4 separate regions of the Homo sapiens genome follow, and regions 1, 3 and 4 are each linked to region 2. The links are contacts of gene promoters, found by promoter capture Hi-C in blood cells and fetal thymus (Javierre and others, 2016). All regions are on one chromosome and are shown on one strand. Each heading gives the region's core, a stretch centred on a gene start or on the middle of the fragment in contact. The rest is flanking DNA. Distances are from core to core; before and after follow the strand shown.

Evidence for each region. The method cuts DNA at HindIII sites, captures the fragments that hold promoters and counts their contacts. A CHiCAGO score of 5 or more calls a contact.
Region 1: a fragment that was not itself captured here is called in contact with the fragment with the promoter of RPRD2 in region 2 in 1 of 17 cell types (total B cells); the score reaches 7.2 in total B cells.
Region 3: a fragment that was not itself captured here is called in contact with the fragment with the promoter of RPRD2 in region 2 in 1 of 17 cell types (activated CD4 T cells); the score reaches 5.2 in activated CD4 T cells.
Region 4: the fragment with the promoter of MINDY1 here is called in contact with the fragment with the promoter of RPRD2 in region 2 in 1 of 17 cell types (neutrophils); the score reaches 5.0 in neutrophils.

Annotation. Positions count from the first base shown.
Region 1 is chr1:150,946,625-150,951,851 of GRCh38, forward strand. It overlaps SETDB1 (SET domain bifurcated histone lysine methyltransferase 1), which reads left to right. Exons shown (of 22, transcript NM_001366418.1): 10 at 262-388; 11 at 2,498-2,654; 12 at 2,743-2,901; 13 at 3,834-4,466; 14 at 4,741-4,857. Among named protein-coding and RNA genes, the nearest start is that of SETDB1, 23 kb to the left of the region's middle. RefSeq lists an enhancer at 3,340-3,484 and a cis regulatory region at 3,412. The HindIII fragment of the contact is 930 bases long and covers 3,032-3,961 here.
Region 2 is chr1:150,360,111-150,365,657 of GRCh38, forward strand. It overlaps RPRD2 (regulation of nuclear pre-mRNA domain containing 2), which reads left to right and starts at 4,037. Exons shown (of 11, transcript NM_015203.5): 1 at 4,037-4,809. The coding sequence starts at 4,605. RefSeq lists enhancers at 2,332-3,274, 3,255-3,324, 3,485-3,794, 4,545-4,824, 5,308-5,547. The HindIII fragment of the contact is 10,239 bases long and covers 2,480-5,547 here.
Region 3 is chr1:150,924,176-150,929,932 of GRCh38, forward strand. It overlaps SETDB1 (SET domain bifurcated histone lysine methyltransferase 1), which reads left to right and starts at 2,188. Exons shown (of 22, transcript NM_001366418.1): 1 at 2,188-2,342; 2 at 3,529-3,799. The coding sequence starts at 3,540. LOC107985204 (a long non-coding RNA gene) reads right to left here and starts at 2,166. Exons shown (of 3, transcript XR_001738231.2): 1 at 2,085-2,166. The HindIII fragment of the contact is 3,618 bases long and covers 2,699-5,757 here.
Region 4 is chr1:151,003,006-151,008,151 of GRCh38, forward strand. It overlaps MINDY1 (MINDY lysine 48 deubiquitinase 1), which reads right to left and starts at 3,897. Exons shown (of 10, transcript NM_001376665.1): 1 at 3,307-3,897. RefSeq lists enhancers at 3,133-3,392, 3,623-3,802. The HindIII fragment of the contact is 12,196 bases long and covers 2,144-5,146 here.

The sequences.
Region 1 (5,227 bases), core at 2,247-4,746, 590 kb after region 2:
TTTAGTAGAGACGGGGTTTCTCCATGTTGGTCAGGCTGGTCTTGAACTCCCAACCTCGGGTGATCCACCTGCCTCAGCCTCCCAAAGTGCTGGGATTACAAGCTACAGGCGTGAGCCACTGTGCTTAGCTTAGACTAAGGAATTTAAGGCTCATCAGGGAGGATTCCCAGAGGTGACACATGGTATATATCCTCTACACAGGACAGGATAGATTCTAGCCTTTAAGCTATTTCCCTTCATTCTTTTCTCTCAATTCCCCAGGATGACAAAAGATGTGAGTGGATCTATCGAGGCTCTACACGGCTGGAGCCCATGTTCAGCATGAAAACATCCTCAGCCTCTGCACTGGAGAAGAAGCAAGGACAGCTCAGGACACGTCCAAATATGGGTATGTCCTGAAAGATTCCTGGAGGAAGGAAGAAACAGGCCAACCAGCAAAGGAGATTATATACAATGGCTATCCTTTGATTAGCATGGTTACACTGTATACTCATTGGAAACAGGATATGTGCCCTGAGTTGTTTCCAATCATGGTGATCAATTTGTGCTGCTGCTTCCACATGCTGTGGCTCTAATTTGTTCTAAACAACCACATAAAAATCTGAAACAGTTGGCTTTAGGTTAGGGTGATAGTAGTTACCCTCTGTTATCCACATGAGAATTGTCAGTTTTGTGTGTTATCTATGGTTAGTTTTTTCTTTTTCTTTTTTTTTTAAATAGACCCGGGGCTTGATATGTTACCCAGGCTGGTCTTGAACTCCTGGGCTCAAGCTGTCTACCTGCCTCGGCTGCCCAAAGTGCTAGGATTACAAGTATGAGCTACCACATCCAGCGTATAGTCAGTTTTCTTTAAAACCCAGACCTGGCCAGGCACAGTGGCTGACATCTATAATCCCAACACTTTAGGAAGCTGAGACAGGTAGGTGGTTTGCTTGAGCTGAGGAATTCAAGACCAGCCTGGGCAACATGGTGAAACCCTGTTTCTACAAAAAAACACAAAAATTAGCTGGGTACAGTGGCATTAAGCTGTAGTCCAGGCTACTCAAGAAGTTGAGGTGGGAGGATCAATTGAAGCCAGGAGGTCGAGGTTGCAGTGAGCTAGATCGTGCCACTGCACTCCAGCCTGGGTGACAGAACGAGACCCTGTCTCAGAAACAAACAAAAAACAGATTTGGTTTTCTTTTTTAATATTACTGTCATACTTTCTGGTTGATTTTTCCTGCCAAAATTAGTTGGTTAAAGAATATATTTCTGAAAATATTTCCCCAAAGTATAACATAATTAGGTAAATCATCTGAGATAGGAAGATATAAAGTCTTATCTAAGGCCCAGCATGGTGGCTCGTGTCTGTAGTCTCAGCACTTTGGGAGGCTGAGGTGGGAGTATCACTTGAGGCCAGGAGTTGGAGATCAGTCTGGGCAACATAGAAAGACTCTTATCTCTTAAAAAAAAAAAATGCTGAGTGTGGTGGTGTGCACCTGTAGCCTTAGCTACTCTGGAGGCTGAGGCAGGAGGATTGCTTGAAGCCCAGGATTTCAAGGTTACAATGAGCTAAGGTCACACCGCTGCACTTCAGCCTGAGTAACAAAGTGGAACACTGTCTATAAAAAGAAAAAAAAGAGGCTACTCTGCCGACAGAGTAGCAATTTTTTTTTTTTTTTTTTGAGATGGAGTCTGGTTCTTTTGCCCAGGCTGGAGTGCAGTGGCACCATCTCAGCTCACTGCAACCTCCGCCTCCCGGGTTCCAGCAATTCTCCTGCCTCAGCCTTCCGAGTAACTGGGGTTACAGGCGACTGCTACCATGCCAGGCTAATTTTTGTATTGTTAGTAGAGACGGGATTTCTCCATGTTGGCCAGGCTGGTCTTGAACTCCTGACCTCAGGTGATCTGCCCGCCTCAGCCTCCCAAAGTGCTGGGATTAAAGGCATGAGCCACCGCGCCTGGCCGTTATTCTTTTATTCCTTTACTTTGTGAATAAACTTGCTTTCACTTTAATAAAAGAAAAAGTATTATCTAAGTCAAAAAACAATGTATGCCAGCGTCCATGCCAGTCAATAATGGGAACTGAGAGTCTAAGCACTTACTCAAAATGTGTCCATTGCTGCTTTTTTTTTTTGAGACGAAGTCTTGTTCTGTTGCCCAGGCTGGAGTACAGTGATGTGATCTCGGCTCACTGCAACCTCCACCTCCTGGTTTCAAGTGATTGTCCTGCGCCTTCCGAGCAGCTGGAATTACAGATGTGCACCACCATGCCCATCTAATTTTTGTATTTTTAGTAGAGACGGGGTTTCACCATGTTGGCCAGGCTGGTCTCAAACTCATGACCTCAAGCAACCTGCCCACTTCGGCCTCCCAAACTGCTGGGATTACAGGCAAGAGCCACTGCGCCCAGCCATTGCTTCCTTTTTATATTGTATAAGTTAAGGATCAGATGTGTGACTGAATACAAGCGTCATAGCTATCATCTTCTCAGTGCTCAATTTCCTTTTTCCTATAGGTGCTGTGAGGAGCAAAGGCCCTGTTGTCCAGTACACACAGGATCTGACCGGTACTGGAACCCAGTTCAAGCCAGTGGAACCCCCACAGCCTACAGCTCCACCTGCCCCACCTTTCCCACCTGCTCCACCTCTATCCCCCCAAGCAGGTGACAGTGAGTGAGTGTTATTCTTTCTTTTTCTTCAGTTTCTTTCATATTATATTTTCCACATCCCTTACTATATGCCCTCTTCTCTAATCTCCTAGAAGCTTGGAAAGCCAGCTTGCCCAGTCACGGAAGCAGGTAGCCAAAAAGAGCACGTCCTTTCGACCAGGATCTGTGGGCTCTGGTCATTCCTCCCCTACATCTCCTGCACTCAGTGAAAATGTCTCTGGTGGGAAACCTGGGATCAACCAGACATATAGGTGAGAAAATCTGAGGCTCTCTGTAGGCAGGATAGCAATGAGTGGTCACTGTGTAGGGGAAGGTTCCTTGGCTGTAAGCGAAGGGCTTAGTTTAAGCTTATGATAGTGAGGAGTTTGGACTTGAAAAGGAAGCTTTACCCATAGAAGTTCCTAAGAAATAGAAAGTAAGAATAATTGAATTGGAAGCTGGGTGCTTGGAAATATGGTATCATCTGAAAGCCATTTGTTAAAACTTCTTGTTGAACATGGTGCCATCATTGCTAAAATAGAAAGGAAACACCACAGCCTCTTTCCTTGGAGTTAGTAAGGACATTTTTAGAACACGCAGCAGACCAAAAAAACATTGGTAGAAGACTGGATTCTACTTCCATAATTCACAGGCAAATACATTTTAGGAAAAGGTATACTGTTGAAATAGAGATGTTAGGCCGGGCGCGGTGGCTCATGCCTGTAATCCCAGCACTTTGGGAGGCCGAGGCGGGTGGATCACCTGAGGTCGGGAGTTCGAGACCAGCCTGGCCAACATGGAGAAACCCTGTCTCTACTAAAAAATACAAAATTAGCCAGGCGTGGTGGCGCATGCCTGTAATCCCAGCTACTCAGGACGCTGAGGCAGGAGAATCGCTTGAACCCAGGAGGCAGAGGTTGTGGTGAGCCAAGATCGTGCCATTGTACTCCAGCCTAGGCAAAAAGAGCGAAACTTGTCTCAAAAAAAAAAAGAGAAATAGAGATGTTATCAGTCAGTGAAGAGTAACCAGGGAGTTTCATTGTCCAGGTTTGGTAGGGCAAGGGAAGATCTTTCTTGAATCATCTTTAGCTTCAGGAGCACAGCTGTTTGAAAGATGAGAGAAATGGCTTAGCTACCTGGAGGGTTAATTATAAAACAGAGGTCCTGTTGCCTTCCGATCTGATCACTTGCATCTCATTTGCAGATCACCTTTAGGCTCCACAGCCTCTGCCCCAGCACCCTCAGCACTCCCGGCCCCTCCAGCACCCCCAGTCTTCCATGGCATGCTGGAGCGGGCCCCAGCAGAGCCCTCCTACCGTGCTCCCATGGAGAAGCTTTTCTACTTACCTCATGTCTGCAGCTATACCTGTCTGTCTCGAGTCAGACCTATGAGGAATGAGCAGTACCGGGGCAAGAACCCTCTGCTGGTCCCGTTACTATATGACTTCCGGCGGATGACAGCCCGGCGTCGAGTTAACCGCAAGATGGGCTTTCATGTTATCTATAAGACACCTTGTGGTCTCTGCCTTCGGACAATGCAGGAGATAGAACGCTACCTTTTCGAGACTGGCTGTGACTTCCTCTTCCTGGAGATGTTCTGTTTGGATCCATATGTTCTTGTGGACCGAAAGTTTCAGCCCTATAAGCCTTTTTACTATATTTTGGACATCACTTATGGGAAGGAAGATGTTCCCCTATCCTGTGTCAATGAGATTGACACAACCCCTCCACCCCAGGTGGCCTACAGCAAGGAACGTATCCCGGGCAAGGGTGTTTTCATTAACACAGGCCCTGAATTTCTGGTTGGCTGTGACTGCAAGGATGGGTGTCGGGACAAGTGAGTTGGTGGGGGGAATTGCTGCCCCTGCTTCCAACTTTGTTATGGTGTCTGTTTCACCTCTTCCTTTGCCTTGTATCTGTACTGCTTTCCCCATCTTCCTTTACCTCCTCCCTCACCTGGAACTCCTGCTATAAGGCCTCCATGAAAGCTATGAGGTAGGGAGGCTGGAGTCTGACATGGCCACACTGAGCAACCTTGGGTACATGTGTATTGTGTTATTTTTGTTCTCTGATCCCCCCGCTCCTTTCCTTTATTTCCCTCTGTCATATAGGTCCAAGTGTGCCTGCCATCAACTAACTATCCAGGCTACAGCCTGTACCCCAGGAGGCCAAATCAACCCTAACTCTGGCTACCAGTACAAGAGACTAGAAGAGTGTCTACCCACAGGGTAAGTGGTCAAGGAATGGCACAGTACCTCAGAGAGACTGAGGAGCATGTTCTTGTTTTTCTGTGCTTATAGAAATCATCAGAAATCTAAAAATTGGAACCAAAAATAGAATACCAGATGAGGCATTTTATTAATTAGATCTTATTTCATGACTTCCAAAACACATTTTTTTTCTTGGACCTTCCTTGAAATGAAGACATAGAATGATTGAATAGTATCTAGCAATTTTCTGTTGCAAAAAAAGATTATCTTAATTTCATAGCTAAATGAATGTCTTAACAGATTGTGATTTACACTTGTAAGTGAAATGTGTTCAGAGAGGAGAAGTAGGCAGGGACCTGATTACATAGGGCTTTGTAAATCAGAATGA
Region 2 (5,547 bases), core at 2,787-5,286:
GGAGGCGGAGGTTGCAGTGAGCCAAGATCGTGCCATTGCACTCCAGCCTGGGCAACAAGAGCAAAACTCCTTCTCAAAAATTAAAAAAGTCCATGCACAGTGGCTCATGCCTGTAATCCCCACACTTTGGGAGGCCGAGGCGGGTGGATCACCTGAGATTGGAAGTTCAAAACCAGCCTGACCAACACGGAGAAACCCCATCTCTGCTAAAAATACAAAATTAGCTGGGCGTGGTGGCACATGCCTGTAATCCCAGCTACTCAGGAGGTTGAGGCAGGAGAATTGCTTGAACCCAGGAGGCAGAGGTTGTGGTCAGCCAAGATCACTCCAGCCTGGGCAACAAGAGCAAAACTCCGTCTCAAAAAAATAAAAAAATGCTCCACATCATATGTCATTAAGGAAATGCAAGTTAAAACAACAATTAGATACTGCTACACACCTATTAGAGTGGCCAAAATCCAAAAGATTAACAACATTAAATGCTGGTGAGGATGTAGAACTGATGGAAATGCAAAATAGTAAATCCACTTTGGTAGGTTGATGATTTTTTCTTTTTTTAAGTAGCTGGGATTACAGGCATTCGCCAACATGCCCAGCTAATTTAGCATTTTTAGTAGAGACGGGGTTTCTCCATGTTGGTTAGGTTGGCCTCGAACTCACGACCTTAGGTGATCTGCCCATCTCGGCTTCCCAAAGTGCTGGGATTACAGGCATGAGCCACTGCGCCTGGCCGATTTCTTTCTTTCTTTTTTTTTTTTTTTTTGAGAGGGAGTTTCAGTCTTGTTGCCCAGGCAGTAGTGCAATGGCGTGATCTTGGCTCACTGCAACATCTGCCTCCCAGGTTTAAGCAATTCTTCCGCCTCAGCCTCCCAAGTAGCTGGGATTACAGGTGCCTGCCACCATGTCCAGCTAATTTTGCTTTGTTTTATTTTATTTTATGTATGTATGTATGTACTTATTTTGAGACAAAGTCTCACTCTGTCACCCAGGGTGGAGTGCAGTGGCGCGACCTTGGCTCACTGCAACCTCCGCTGCCCAGGTTCAAGCAATTCTCCTGCCTCAGCCTCCTGAGTAGCTGGGATTACAGGCATGTGCCACTGCGCCCGGCTAATTTTTTGTAATTTTAGTAGAGAGGGGGTTTCGCCACATTGGTCAGGCTGGTCTTTAATTCTTGACCTTGTGATCCACCCCACTTGGCCTCCCAAAGTGCTGGGATTACAGGTGTGAGCCACCGCACCTGGCCCTGTATTTTTAGTAGAGATGGGGTTTCACCATGTTGGTCAGGCTGGCCAGTTTCTAACTCTTGACCTCGGGCGATCCACCGGCCTCGGCCTCCCAAAGTGCTGGGATTACAGGCATGAGCCACCGCGCCCGGCCTTAGGTTGATGATTTCTTACAAAAGTAAACATATTCTTACCATATGATGTAACAATTGTGCTCCTTCGTGTTTACCCAAGGAGTTGAAAATATATTCACCCCAAAAGCTGTACAGAGATGTTTGTAACAGCTTTATTCATACTTGCAAAAATGTGGAAGCAACCAAGATGTCCTTCAGGTGAATGGATAAATAAAACTGGCACATCTGGACAGTGAAATATTATTCAGCACTAAAATGAAATGAGCTATCAAGCCATGAAAAGACATGGAAGAAACTGAAATGCATTTTTTTTTTTTTTGAGGTGGAATCTCATTCTGTTGCCCAGGCTGGAGTGCAGTGGCCTGATCTTGGCTCACTGCAACCTCCGCCTCCCAGGTTCAAGTGATTCTCCTGCCTCACCCTCCGGAGTAGCTGGGACTACAGGCGTGCGCCACCATGCACGGCTAATTTTTGTATTTTTAGTAGAGACGGGGGTTTCACTATGTTGGCCAGGCTGGTCTCGAACTCCTGACCTCGTGATCCACCCACCTCGGCCTCCCAAAGTGCTGGGATTACAGGCATGAGCCACCGTGCCCCGCCTGAAATGCATATTATTAAGTGAAAAAAGCCAGTCTGAAAAGGCTACATACTGAATGATTTCACCTATATGACATTCGGGAAAAGGCAAAACTATGAAGACAGTAAAAAGATTAGTAGTCGCTAGGGGAATAAGGGGGAGGGAAGGATGAATAGGTGGAACACAGAGGTTTTTAGAGCAGTGATACTGCTCTGTATGATACTGTAATGGTGGATACATGCACATTTGTCCAAACTCAAGGTATAACACCAAGAGCGAACCCTAATGTAAACTATGGGCTTTGGGTGATAATGTGTCAGTGTAGGTTTGTCAGTTGTAACAGATGTATCGTTCTGGTGCGTGACATTGATAATGGGGGAGGGTATTCATGTGTGGGGGCAGGTGGTATATGGAATTCCTTGTGCTTTCCACACAATTGCCGTGAATCTAAAACTGCTCTAAAAATAGTCTATAAAAAAGTGGGTCTTTGGCTAGAGTTACAGAAAAAAAAAAAATGTGGGGTCAGGACCAGGCATGGCGGCTCAAGCTTATAATCCCAGCACTTCGGGAGGCTGAAAGCAGGAGGACTGCTTGAGGCTAGGAGTTTGAGACCAGCCTGGGCAACATAGGGAGACTCCCCCTCTCAAAAAAATGTTGTTGTTGTTGTTTTGTTTTTTTAGCTAGGTGTGGTGGTGCAGGCCTGTAGTCCCAGCTACTTGTGCTGCTGAGGCAGGAGGACCACTTGAGTCTGGGGGATTGAGGCTGCTGTGCGATATGATAGTGCCACTGCACTCTAGCCTTGGCAGGGACAGAGCGAGACTGTATTTTAGAGCCTTTGCACTTGCTGTTCCTAATGCCAGCATGTTCCGCTCCCCGTCTCGCATATCTGCTTGGTTGCTTTTTTCTCAATGTTCAGATCGAGTTATTTCTTTCGAGAAGACTTCCTGGTTCACCATACCACCATTCTTATACTGGCGCGTGCGTGCCGTGCACACGTACACACACGCGCGCACACACACACACCCCTTTCTCCCTTACCCTGCTTCACCTTTTTACAGAATTTAATACTGTCTGAAATGTACTTGTTGGTGGTGTCCTGCCACTAAATCCCGGAGGGAACGGATTTTTGTCTGTTTTGCTCCCCATGATCTAAAACAGTACTTGGCACAAGAGGTTCAACAACTCGTTGAATTAATGAATAGTGGACATGAACTTGACAAAACAGGTTCCCTGCCTCAAGAGGCATGGCCGCAGTGAGGAGACGTTAAAAGAATTAAAACTGTATATGTTTAGTGGGAACACAGGAGCCTTTAAATTAGCTCAGAGGATTTACATAGATACCTGCGATAAAATGGTTCGTATAAGGTTCATATAATAGTTACGTAAGACTCTTGAAAACTGTAATGTATTATGCAATTTTAAGATTGTATCATAGCTGGCGAAAATGAGGTCACATCTTGCCATTCTTTTTTCGCCTCGAAAAATTTTATGAGGAAAATTTCCTTTCACTTCCTCATTTATTTCCTTTTCCTGTAACCTAAATGGTCAAGCGGCTGTGAATGTTATCTTCTATGGGCAGCAATAAATACGGTTTGGTGTCGGAGTCTGCGTAGTGAATGGCTCACTGGATCTGGCGCATGCGCATCTTTTGTGGTGCCGCAAGATGGCTGCCAGCCATTTTGTCGCGCGTTGCTCCTCCGAGGAGTTGGGGGCGATGGCTGCAGCCCCCTGAAGACTAACAGTGGTCTCAGTGGTGGGAATTTTCTGTCTCTGTTGTGTGAGCTGAACACACCCAAGAGAGCGGCCAAAAGCAGCAAAGGGCGGGGCAGGGGAACCCCCCCACCCGGCTAACCTTAGTTATACCAGCTCCCTCACCCATCCCTCCCAGTTTTTCCTTCCATCCCGTTACACGCTTATCTTCTGCGCAGGCGCAAAAATAATCGTAGCGCCTCCTGGGCCCTGGGGGCTTCAGAGCTCCTGCGCGCGCTTGTGGTTCTCCACTCCTGATTGGTCAGGTTGCCCCGCCATCACGCCTCCCTCTGCTTTCAAGGTTGAGAAGGAAGCAGGGGTAGGGGGGTGGGGCCAAGTGGCGCGTGCGCGATACTGTTGCTGCCCCTTTGCTGCTATTGCGTTGCAAAAAAAATCCTGACTAGGTAGCCTTGGACCTTTTCTGTGCTAGCGAGTCTAAAGGAAAGAAAGATTTCTGCAACTGAAGGGGCAGTCGGGTAGTATTACATTTAAGATATTAACGCCCGACCTGGCTCACAGGAGTGTGGGAACAGGGGCGGGGAAGGGCCTTAGCACTGAGAGCCGAAAAGTATAAAACGATTAGTTTCGGCGTCAGGCGTTTTGAAAGGCTTTGCAGGTCCTGTTTTCTGCGTAATTTTTCCGTGATTACTGACTGGTTTAAACACGACCCCTTGAACAATATTGATAAAACCTCCGAGACCCGCAGCCCCTCCTTGCAGCGTGTAGGAGCTGCCAGCGTGCCCAGCAGCTGGTGTTCCCGTCCGTACCTCCAGAAGAGCCCAGCGCGTGCACCATCCCCACCCCCTAGCTTCCCTCCCCACCTACGGCTTTCACGCACTCGCAGTGATTGTTTTGCCCGCTCCCGCCGCCGCCGCCGCCGCCGCCGCCAGAGGAGCAGCAGCGCTTGTGCAAACCGGGAAGATGGCGGCCGGCGGCGGCGGAGGCAGCAGTAAGGCCTCCTCCTCGTCGGCCTCTTCGGCAGGGGCTCTGGAGTCCTCGTTGGATCGAAAATTCCAGTCGGTAACCAACACCATGGAGTCCATTCAAGGCTTGTCGTCTTGGTGTATAGAGAACAAAAAACACCACAGTACTATCGTCTATCATTGGATGAAGTGGCTCCGGAGATGTGAGTGTTGGGGGTGACTAGGGAAGGGAAGACTGGGGAAATGGAAGGAAGTGTGGCCTGAAACGCTTGGGGTTTTCCCACGGAGCCGCAGCATTTGGTTGGGGTTGTTCACATTAAAGGTTTGACCCCAGTGGTCCCAAACCCAGACTCCATTCCTAGCCAGGATTGTCCTGAATTGCAGGAGACTCATTTCTTGGGTTTTTTAGCCATTGAATTGTTGTGACCTTGGGCCGTTGGGCCCAGATCCATGGAGATTTACGTATATTGTTTTTAATATTTCAGAGCCTTGTAAGGTGTATTGATTTTTCCGAACCTTCGCGGAAATTGTAGCGTCTGTTTATTTCTTACAGGCCTTGACGTGTTAATGATTTCTGGCTTTCCTGATGGTAGGCGAGCTGTGGTTTTAAGCAGTAGTAAATCCAGTGATGTTTAATGAGGAGTGCCTTGTCTGGATGAATGTATCTAAAACTTGTGATGTGTAGTAAGGAGAGCCTTACCTGGATGAATGTTAAGAAGCAGCATGAGCTCTACATAGATCTGAGGCACCACCGGGTTTTCCCTGTACCTGTGTTTGCTGCAATAAAATACAGGTTTCTTGGATACTGACCAGAAACAACTGCGATACAGTAGTCAGTATCATCGTTAATACCTTCAAATATAAAGCGTGTCCAGTTCCTCTTTTTTTTTGAGACGGAGTTTTGCTCTTGTCGCCCAGGCTGGAGTGCAGTGGCGCGATCT
Region 3 (5,757 bases), core at 3,258-5,757, 560 kb after region 2:
AGGTCAGGAAATTGAGACCATCCTGGCTAACACAGTGAAACCCCGTCTCTACTAAAAATACAAAAAATTAGCCAGGCGTGGCGGCACGCACCTGTAGTCCCAACTACTCAGGAGGCTGAGGCAGGAGAATCGCTTGAACCCAGGAGGTGGAGGTTGCAGTGAGCCGAAATCGTGCCACTGCAGTCCAGCCTGGGCGACAGAGCGAGACTCTGTCTCAGAAAAAAAAAAAGAAAAGAAAAGAAAAAGAAAGAAAGGGCCGGGAGCAGTGGCTCACGCCTGTAAGTAATCCTAGCACTTTGGGAGGCGAGGCGGGTGGATCACTTGAGGTCAGGAGTTTGAGACCAGCCTGGCCAACATGGCGAAACCTCGTCTCCACCAAAAATACAAAAACTAGCCGGGTGTGGTGGCAGGGGCTTGTAATCCCAGCTACTCGGGAGGCTGAGGCAGGAGAACTGCTTGAACCCGGGAGGTGGAGGTTGCAGTGAGCCGAGATCGCACCATTGCACTCCAGCTTGGGTGACAAGAGCGAAACTCAGTCTCAAAAACAAACAAACAAACAAAAAAAGGAAGGCTCGGCGCAGTGGCTCACACCTGTATGTAATCCCAGCACTTTGGGAGGCCGAGGTGTGACGAGGCCAGCCTGGCTAACACGGTGAAACCCCGTCTCTACTAAAAATACAAAAAATTAGGCGGGCGTGGTGGCACGCGCCTGTAGTCCCAGCTACTCGGAAGGACGAGCCAGGAGAATCGCTTGAACCCGGGAGGTGGAGGTTGCAGTGAGCCAAGATCGCGCCATTGCACTCCAGCCTGGGCGATAGAACGAAACGCCTTCTCAAAAAAAAAAAAAAAAAAAAAAAAAAGGAAAAAAGCACATATTATTTTACTCAAATTCCATTTTGGGAAATCTTTTCTTTTTGTTTTTTGTTTTGTTTTGTTTTTGAGACGGAGTCTCGCTCGGTCACTTAGGCTGGAGTGCAGTGGCGCGATCTCCTCTCACTGAAGCCTCTGCCACCGGGGCTCAAGCGATCCTCCCCCCGCCTCAGCTGCGGAGTTGCTGGGACCACAGACGCGAACTACCACGCCTGGCTTTTTTTTTTTTTTTTTTACCTTGTATTTTTAGTCGAGATGGCGTTTCGCCGTGTTGCCCAGGCTGGTCTGGAACTCCTGGGCTCTAGCAATCCTCCCGCCTCGGACACAAAGCGCCCGGCCTGGGGAATCTTTTCTACAGAAATAAAAGTACTACTTCAAAAGGATGTTTATTTTTATTGTTGCGCTATTTGTCGGGGCTGAGAACGGAAAACAATCTAAACAATCTAAACTATTCAGGTGTCAAAAATACAAGTTATTGGTTTTTTGTTTTTTTGTTTTTTTTGGTTTTTTTGAGACGGAGTCTCGCTCTGTCGCCCAGGCTGGAGTGCAGTGGCGCGATCTCCGCTCACCGCAAGCACCGCCTCCCGGGTTCACGCCATTCTCCTGCCTCAGCCTCCCGAGTAGCTGGGACTACAGGCGCCCGCCACCACGCCCGGCTAACATTTTTAGTACAGACGGGGTTTCACCGTGTTAGCCAGGATGATCTCCATCTCCTGACCTCGTGATCCGCCCGCCTCTGACTCCCAAAGTGCTGGGATTACAGGCGTGAGCTACCGCGCCCGGCCAAAAATACAAGTTTTACCTTTTTTATTGGCTTCAGGTAATGTCCACATGTTAAATGAAAACAACAAAAATCCAAATACAGAAACTCGTACATACAAGACTGGAAAATGAAGCTGTATTACCTGAAAGGAGCGGAGTGGTGATGGGGCAAGAGAGAATATTATCACGTTTTTCTTATTACATCTTGATAGCCTTTACAATTTGTATCACTTATGTAACAAAACAAACTCAAGTAAAACTGAGAGAATAAAGCTCTGAACCTATGAGCGTTTCCCTAAGTCTTTACACAATGAATATAGTAATGGGGCCACTAGTCGAGGGTGGTAGGAGCGGCGGAGACTCGGTAATATACTGGCCACGCCTACTCTGCCCTGCCAGTCTCTTCTCACGTGTGCCCCTGGAAGGCTCTGCCTTAACGCATGCGTAGTTACCTTAGTTTTCGTCGCCTCTGAGGGGCGCCCCGCGGCTTTGGATTTGACCCCGTCAGGCTACCGTCGCGGTGACCGGAACGGCACTAAAGGTTTGCTTCCGGGCGTTTCTTTTGCTTCCCCTTCCCTCTTTCACGCTTCCTCCCCTCCCCCTCCTCCCTTATCCCTTCGCTTTCGCTCTTTTCCGTCGAGGCCGACCCCTGAGTTGTGAGTCTGGGGTCTGGTTGGTGAAAAAGAGCCCTTGAAGCTGGAAGACGGGAGGTGCGGGGAATACTGTTGAGTTATTTGGTGACCAAAGGCTTATCTGGGACGTTTTGTTTGTGGGAGGGGGTCGGGCGAGGGTGGGAAGGAAGTCTTCCCCAGAGGCGAACGGGGGCGGGGCTGAACTGGGTTTGCGAATGGGTAGGACGCACCCCTAGAATGGGTAGCACGGGGGTGGGCTGGTGTGTGGGCAGAGGAAAATGGAGGCGCTGAAAATCAGATTTTCTTTAACCGTTTGATTAAAAAAGCAGTTCACACGAATGTGTGAAGTATTTGGATTGTGGATATTAGGTACCCACGTTTTATTCCCAGGTTGCTTTACTTCTCTGTACTTTGGGGGAAACCTTTTTGCTGCAAGCTTTCGTGTGTTTGAATATCATAGACTTTTTAAAAAGTAAAATTCCACATGGAAGCAAAGTAATATAAGGGGAACAAGTAATGAAAGAGAAAACACTGAGTTAGTGAGTTCCAAATCAACTCCATCCCCAGGTGGGGTTTTGTTTAAATTAGGCATAGCATACAAAGATTTATCACATTAGTTAAGGAACACATATAGACCACAAAAATATCTTATAGATTGGTTCTCTTCAGTATCCCAAAAGATTATTTTTAAAGTTCGGTTTGTTTTGAGACAGGGTCTCACTTTGTCACCCAAGCTGGAATGCATGGCGCGAACATAGCTCACTACAGCAGCTACTCCTGGGCTCAAGCGATCCTCCCACTTCAGCCTCCTGAGTAGCTGGAACTAAAGGCGTGCACCACCACACGTGGCTAATTTTTGTATTTTTTTGTAAAGACGAGTCTTGCCATGTTGCCCAGGCTGGTCTTGAACTCCTGCCCTCAAGCGACCCTCCTGCCTCGGCCTCTAAAAGTGCTGAGATTACAGGTGTAAGCCACTGTGCCAGCCCAAAACATTATTTTCAGTAGCTCTCTACTGCTTAATGAATGTTCTCCATGCCGTCTCAAACTCTTAAATCTTTTTCAGGAGTGTTAGCGTACAGCAGAAGATAAGAACTCTTAAAAATCTCAGCATCAGATTCTGGAGAATAGGGAGGGAGAACATGGAATATTTGAATAGAATAACAGGCAGCAGAGTAGGAATTAGTTTTATTAGGGAACTGAAATTCTCTATTGATTGATTGTAGTTATAAGGACTCCAATTTAATTTGTTTTCTGTTCCATGCAGAGGACAAAAGCATGTCTTCCCTTCCTGGGTGCATTGGTTTGGATGCAGCAACAGCTACAGTGGAGTCTGAAGAGATTGCAGAGCTGCAACAGGCAGTGGTTGAGGAACTGGGTATCTCTATGGAGGAACTTCGGCATTTCATCGATGAGGAACTGGAGAAGATGGATTGTGTACAGCAACGCAAGAAGCAGCTAGCAGAGTTAGAGACATGGGTAATACAGAAAGAATCTGAGGTGGCTCACGTTGACCAACTCTTTGATGATGCATCCAGGTGAGAACTCCATGGAAAATAGAAGGAAATCTCTCCATTGGGAGATGTTTTTAGAGAATAATTGTTCATGACATTGAACCAAGCATTTTATTTTATGTTTTGAGACGGAGTCTCGCTCTGTCACCCAAGCTAGAGTGCAGTGGAGTGATCCTGGCTCACTGCAACCTCCACCTCTCGGGTTCAAGTGATTCTCCCACCTCCCCCTCCCGAGTAGCTGGAATTATAGGCATCCGCCACCACACCCAGCTAATTTTTTATATTTTTAGTAGAGACAGGGTTTCACCATGTTGGCCAGGCTGTGTACCAAACATTTTATACTTTATGAAGTACAGATGTTTAGAACCTTACTCTTCCTCAAAGTTTATGGTCAAAAATCTGACCTTACAATCAGCCGTAAATATAATTTTCATCTGTCAGCAGCTAATACATGATCAGCAGTAAGGGAGTCCAAGTCTTAAGTCCTTTCCCCTTCTTCCTCCTGTGCTCTATCTTAGAACAATTGCTTCATTTCCCTAGTAAGATCATCCAGGGAGTGAGGATTGTAAAGAATTTCTGTCTTACGTAACTCTGAAGCATTAGTAAGTTCCCATACCCCCAAAAGATTTGTTTCTGGTGCTCTAGTTGTCACTTAGAATACATTGTTTTTAAATTTATTATACTTTAAGTTCTAGGGTATATGTGCACAACGTGCAGGTTTATTACATATGTATACATGTGCCATGTTGGTGTCACTTACATTAGGTATATCTCCTAATACTATCCCTCCCCCTTCCCCCCACCCCACGACAGGCCCCAGTATGTGACGTTCCCCATCCTGTGTCCAGGTGTTCTCATTGTTCAATTCCCACCTATGAATGAGAACGTGCGGTGTTTGGTTTTCTGTCCTTGCTATAGTTTGCTCAGAATGATGGTTTCCAGCTTCATCCATGTGCCTACAAAGGACATGAACTCATCCTTTTTTATGGCTGCATAGTATTCCATGGTGTATATGTGCCACATTTCTTAATCCAGTCTATCATTGATGGACATTTGGGTTGGTTTAAAGTCTTTGCTATTGTGGATAGTGCCGCAATAAACATACGTGTGCATGTGTCTTTATAGCAGCATGATTTATAATCCTTTGGGTATATACCCAGTAATGGGATTGCTGGGTCAAATGGTATTTCTAGTTCTAGATCCTTGAGGAATCGCCACACTGTCTTCCACAATGGTTGAACAAGTTTACAGTCCCACCAACAGTGTAAAAGTGTTCCTGTTTCTCTACATCCTCTCCAGCACCTGTTGTTTCCTGACTTTTTAATGATCGCCATTCTAACTGGTGTGAGACGGTATCTCATGGTGGTTTTGATTTGCATTTCTCTGATGGCCACTGATAATGAGCATTTTTTTATTTTATTTTTATTTTATTTTATTTTTTTTTTAGACAGAGACTTGCTCTGTCTCACCCAGGCTGGAGTACAGTGACGTGATCTCGGCTCACTGCAGCCTCCGCCTCCCGAGTTCAAGCAGCTCTCCTGTCTCAGCCTCCGGAGTAGCTGGGACGACAAGCGTGTGCCACCACACCCGGCTAATTTTTGTATTTTTAGTAGAGATGGAGTTTTACCATGTCGGCCAGGCTGGGGAGGTCAAATTCCTGACCTCAAGTGATCTACCTGCCTCAGCCTCCCAAATTGCTGGGATTGCAGGTGTGAGCCACCACTGCCAGCCAGGATACATTTTCAGATAACAGCAAGGTAAATAATGAGGTAAGGGTGAAAGTACTGTACTTTGGGCTTACTTTGGATTTTTGAGGAACTAGTCTGGAAACTAAACCACTATTTAAAACATTTTTCTATAGAAAAAGCATTCTAAATTCTAAACAGAGACACTTTGGAATGTGGCCCATTTAAATTGAGGACTGTCTATACTTAAATATATATACATCGTAATGGATTCTATATCTCTTAATTCCTCTACTG
Region 4 (5,146 bases), core at 2,647-5,146, 640 kb after region 2:
AGAGAAAGGGAGAGCACAAAGGAGAAAGAAGGATAAGAGGTGGAGAAAGAAATGTTAAATCTACGCTAATGGTTATTAATATGATGATCTTTAGCTTACTCTAATAGGCATCACATCAGTAACCCCCTCATAGCCATGACAGAGATAATTCCTCTGCCCTACCCCACACCCTGCCCCTTCACACAACATACTAAGAATACACAGTGCTTGTATGTTTAGGGATACCTTCTCTCTGCCTCACCCAAGGATAAAAAGATTAAGTCACATAGTACTTGGGGTGAAGAATGGAGGAGGCACAGAGAGTCAGTTTCATGCCCCTAAAGGTGAAATGCTGGTGAGGAAGGGGAAGTCTTCCACCTCAAAGGGCTCTACTGAACCTTACACAATCCCAAACCACAGTATAAAGGCCTTGGGAGGGGTTTCCTGTAAGCTGGGAGGGGAAATGTAGGTGGTGGGGGCTGGAATCAGAGACTGGTTTTGATAAATAACTTCAGATTAGGGGCACAAAAAGCACTCCCCACAAGTTCTTCCAGTAAGCTTCTCTTTAAAAAAAATTAATAAAGATATCAAATTTCTTTTAATTAAACTGAGACAGGGTCTTGCTTTGTTGCCTAGGCTGGTCTTAACTCCTGGGGGCCCAAGCAATCCGCCCTCCTCAGCCTGCCAAAGGACTGGGATTACAGGCATGAGCCACGGTGCCTGGACCCAGTAAGCATCTCTTGACAGCTAGCATTGAGACAGCAACTTTTCCTCAGTTCATTTTTTTTCCCCAGAAACTACCTAAACCCAGAGGTACTCTCTTGCCTGCTATTTCTATGAAATATGAAAATGCTGATTATTAATTTACATAACAATACTTCCTGTACATTCACCTACCTAAAGTTTTATGTCTATTCCCATCCAAGTGGTTTTATTTATTTATTTTTATTTTTTTGAGACAGAGTTTTGCTCTTGTTGCCTAGGTTGGAGTGCAATGGTGCGACCTCGGCTCACTGCAACCTCTGCCTCCTGGGTTCAAGTGATTCTCCTGCCTCAGCCTCCCGAGTAGCTGGGATTACAGGCATGCAACACCATGCCCAGCTAATTTTGTATTTTTTAGTAGAGATGGAGTTTCTCCATGTTGGTCAGGCTGGTCTTGAACTTCCGACCTCAGGTGATCCTCCCACCTTGGCCTCCCAAAGTGCTGGGATTACAGGCATGAGCCACCGTGCCCAGTCCTCTCCAGGTCATTTTAGATGTGAACACCGGACCTGTTTAACCTGTTCTCTATCAGCACTGGAGGCACATTGAGGCAAGCACAGATAGACATTTAACTAATACTGTGGGTATAAATAATAAAAAACCACAAATCCTGCCCTTTGGAAAACATCTCCCTTCAATCTCCTTGCTCCCCTCCCACTCTTTATCAGGGAGAGAAACAGGGAGAAATTAAACTAGTTAGGGGCCAGGCGCGGTGGCTCACGCCTGTAATCCCAGCACTTTGAGAGGCTGAGGCGGGCAGATTACTTGAGGTCAGGAGATCGAGACCATCCTGGCTAACATGGCAAAACGCTGTCTGTATTGAAAGTACAAAAATTAGCCAGGTGTGTTGGCACGTGCCTGTAGTCACAGCTGCTCGGGAGGCTGAGGTGGGAGAATTGCTTGAACCTGGGAGGCAGGGGGTTGCAGTGAGCTGAGATGGTGACACTGCACTACAGCCTGGGTGACAGAGCGAAACTCCATCTCAAAAATAAAATAAAATAAAATAAAATAAAATAAAATAAAATAAAATAAAATAAAATAAATTAAACTAGTTAGAAATCTTGTCTTTTCTCCACCCTCCTCCCAGCCTGAGACTGCTTCCTTCTTGTAAACCTACAGGAATTTGGGGCTAGGGGAAGGCCTGGGAGATGAGGTTGAGGAACATTAAAGTTACTGAAACAAAATAAGCCTAGTCACTCAAATTGATTATCCTCTTGATTCACATATGTTTATGCTAGCTGCATATCATTTACGTGTTGTTAATTTAGAATCAGAGTAGCAAAAATTGCCTGCAGGCCTTATGCTTTTTTTTCTCTCTCTTTCTCTCTCTCCTTTCCTTCTCCCCTTAAATGACACTTAGGGTGAACCTCAAAGCAGATGCCAGAGCCTGGAAAAGTGAAAAAGCTTGAAGAAAAGCAGGCCTTGGCCGGGCACAGTGCCTCACACCTGTATCCCAGCACTTTGAGAGGCCGAGGCGGGCGGATCACCTGAGGTCAGGAGCTCAAGATCGGCCTGGCTAACATGGCGAAACCCCATCTCTACTAAAAATACAAAAATTAGCCGGGCACGGTGGCGGGCACCTGTAATCCCAGCTACTCAGGAGGCTGAGGCAGGAGAATTGCTTGAACCCCGGAGGTGGAGGTTGCAGTAAGCCAAGATTGTGCCTCTGCACTCCAGCCTGGGTGACAAGAGTGAGACTCTTGCCTCCAAAAAAAAAAAGAAAAAAAGAAAAAAAAAAAAGAAAAGCAGGCCTTATTTTTTATATTTTCTCTCCAGTGCCAGAAATGATCAATGATGAAGTGGGGGTTGGGCAGCTAGCTGGCTGGAGAGGTGAGCCAAAGGAACCCAGGAGTGGACACCTGAGGGAGTGGGGTCTCAGAGGAACTGGGCAGAGCTAAATGGGCTAAGTCTTAAGAGGCAGGGGCAGGAAATGTAATGGAGGCTTTCTACTCTACAACGTCCAATCCTGCTGGGGAGGGCATGGAGTATTTCAGAGTAGGAAAGAATGAGGGAGAGGATAGTCAGATAAATCAAAGTTTCATTCTTTTCCTCCTCTTTCTTAGCTCGTCAAATCCTACACTTTCTCTCCAGCTGGAATTATGGTGGTGAGTGAGGGAGTTAAAATAATCCTGGCTCCTCCCTAATCAATGGCAGTAGAGAGCCGAAAGTTGGAAGAAGCACGTAAAACAGGTATGTAGCTTCAAGAAGACACTCCTTCTCTGTAGGAACAGTTCCCTTACTGTCTCACACCAATCTCCTTCTTAGTCTGACCTATGTCTTTGTGCAATCAATAGTTTAGATTTTCATCTCAGAATATGTCAACCATGGCCACAGTGCCCTGTATACTTGCTCACAAGGAGAGGGGGAAGGTTTCGTGCTTTCATTAAAAGGAGGAGGACCAAGCAGCATCCCCTTTACATGTCTCTCCTGACTTAGCTCCTCTAAGCAATCCAGACTTGCAGACCAAAGGTGGAAGGACAGCAGGTGTCAGCTCCCCAAAGCTGGAGAGGAAATAGAGAAGGGTGGGAGAAGAGGTGAAGAAGATGATTAAAATAAAGTTTTTACCTTAAAGAAGGGGGTGCTGTTCCAAGATTGAGAAGGAGGGTTCAGCCGTGGCAATGAGATGGGGGAGATAGGTGCAATGAAGGGGGCTGCCAGTGCCAGCTGCCTTCCAGCTGTCAACGCCTGAGCTTATACAGGTTTACACAGCTTTATAAGCGACGGTCCAGGCTGGGTTGTGGCCACTTCCGGACTCACGCCCAGTACTGGGGGCACTGGAGGAGGGTGAAGGCAGGCAGGGACACAGCCAAGGTGCTCCAGGTCGCTCAGAGAGTCTTCAGGATTCCTGAGTCGCCGAGTCTATGGCATGCGCTCCGGGCCCTGACTACAAGCTGGTTTTCAAAGGAAGTTTGTGGTTTTTCTTTTCTTCTCTCTCTCTTTTTTGTTCTCATCAGGACGAAGAAAAATTAGGCAAGGACAAGCTCCCTGGAGGAGGAGGGGCCTGCCCAGCGCTGGTGGATTTCCATCAGGACTTTCTGACCCGGTCAGCAGCTTTGTGATCAGCAGAGAGGGAGCGAGAAACAGGAGAGAAAAACAACAGACCCTTTCTCTTCCCTCTGCCTGCCTCTAGAAGGGACGGAGCGCTTGTGCCTCTCTGGTGAGAATAGGGAAGAGCAAGTGCCCTTGCTAAGTAGGGAGGAGAAGGGCTGGACAGAAGCAGCTTGTTGGATCTGGGCTCTCTCTCTGGGTATGGCAGTCCTTTGCTCTGGATCCACAGAAGCAGGAGCAAAGAGCACGATATTTGCATGTATTACTCAATTAATGTTAAAAACAAACAAACAAACCCAGCTCTTTTCCCTCTGGAGCCCTCCAGAGAGCTCCTTTCCAAGTCCTTGCTGTATCATTTTTAAGTCTAGAAATGAAACTGGTTGGGTTGTGCACCTGGTAGAGTGCAGAGGGTGTGGTAGAAGCCCCAGGCTCTGGGCGCGATGGCTGACGCCTGTAATCCCAGCACTTTGGGAAGCCAAGGCGGGCGGATCACAAGGTCAAGAGATCAAGACCAACCTGGCCAACATAGTGAAACCCCATCTCTACTAAAAATACAAAAATTAGCAGGGCATGGTGGCACATGCCTGTAGTCCCAGCTACTCGGGAGGCTGAGGCAGGAGAATCGCTTGAACCCGGGAGGTGGAGGTTGCAGTGAGCCAAGATCCTGCCACTGCACTCCAGCCTGAAGACGGAGCAAGACTCCGTCTCAAAAAGAAGAAGAAGAAGAAAAGAACTGGCAGAGCAGGCAGGAGATCCAACACGCCTGTGCTCTGGATCTTGGTTCCACTGCAGGCCTCTCATCAGTCACCTCCTCTCGATTTACAGCTGGGGAAGCAGGAAAAGCTGGTGTGAGGCTGACGGTAGGAAATAAAGGGATAGATAAATAAATGAGGGAATTTTTGATGATGAGTGTCCATTTATTTGCAGTACCTGCACTACTCTGCGGCTGGAAAGTGGCAGTTAAGGGAGGTTGGAACCTAACTCCACATTCTGAAGGGTTCCCTAAACTCTATGTACAGGGCCGCCACAGGATGAAATTTCAAGCAACTCTAAAGGCTGAAAGAGCAATTGGAACAATTAGGGTGGCAGAGAGCAAAAAGCCAAGGTTACAACCGTCCAAGAAAGGAAGAAGATATTTGCCGAGGCTGTAGAAAAAAACAGGCTACAGAGTTGCAAAGGGAGAAGCAGCAGGAGTTGGCAGGAGACTGTAGGTGTTAACAAGAGGGGTCAAAGATTATTCTAATGTTCTCCTAACATGAACAACCACAAAATTGGTGGCGACTGAGTCAGTTTGGTAAAGGGCAGAATTTGTAGAAAGAAGATGATCTGTTTTGCCAAGTGTCATTTAAAATGTCAC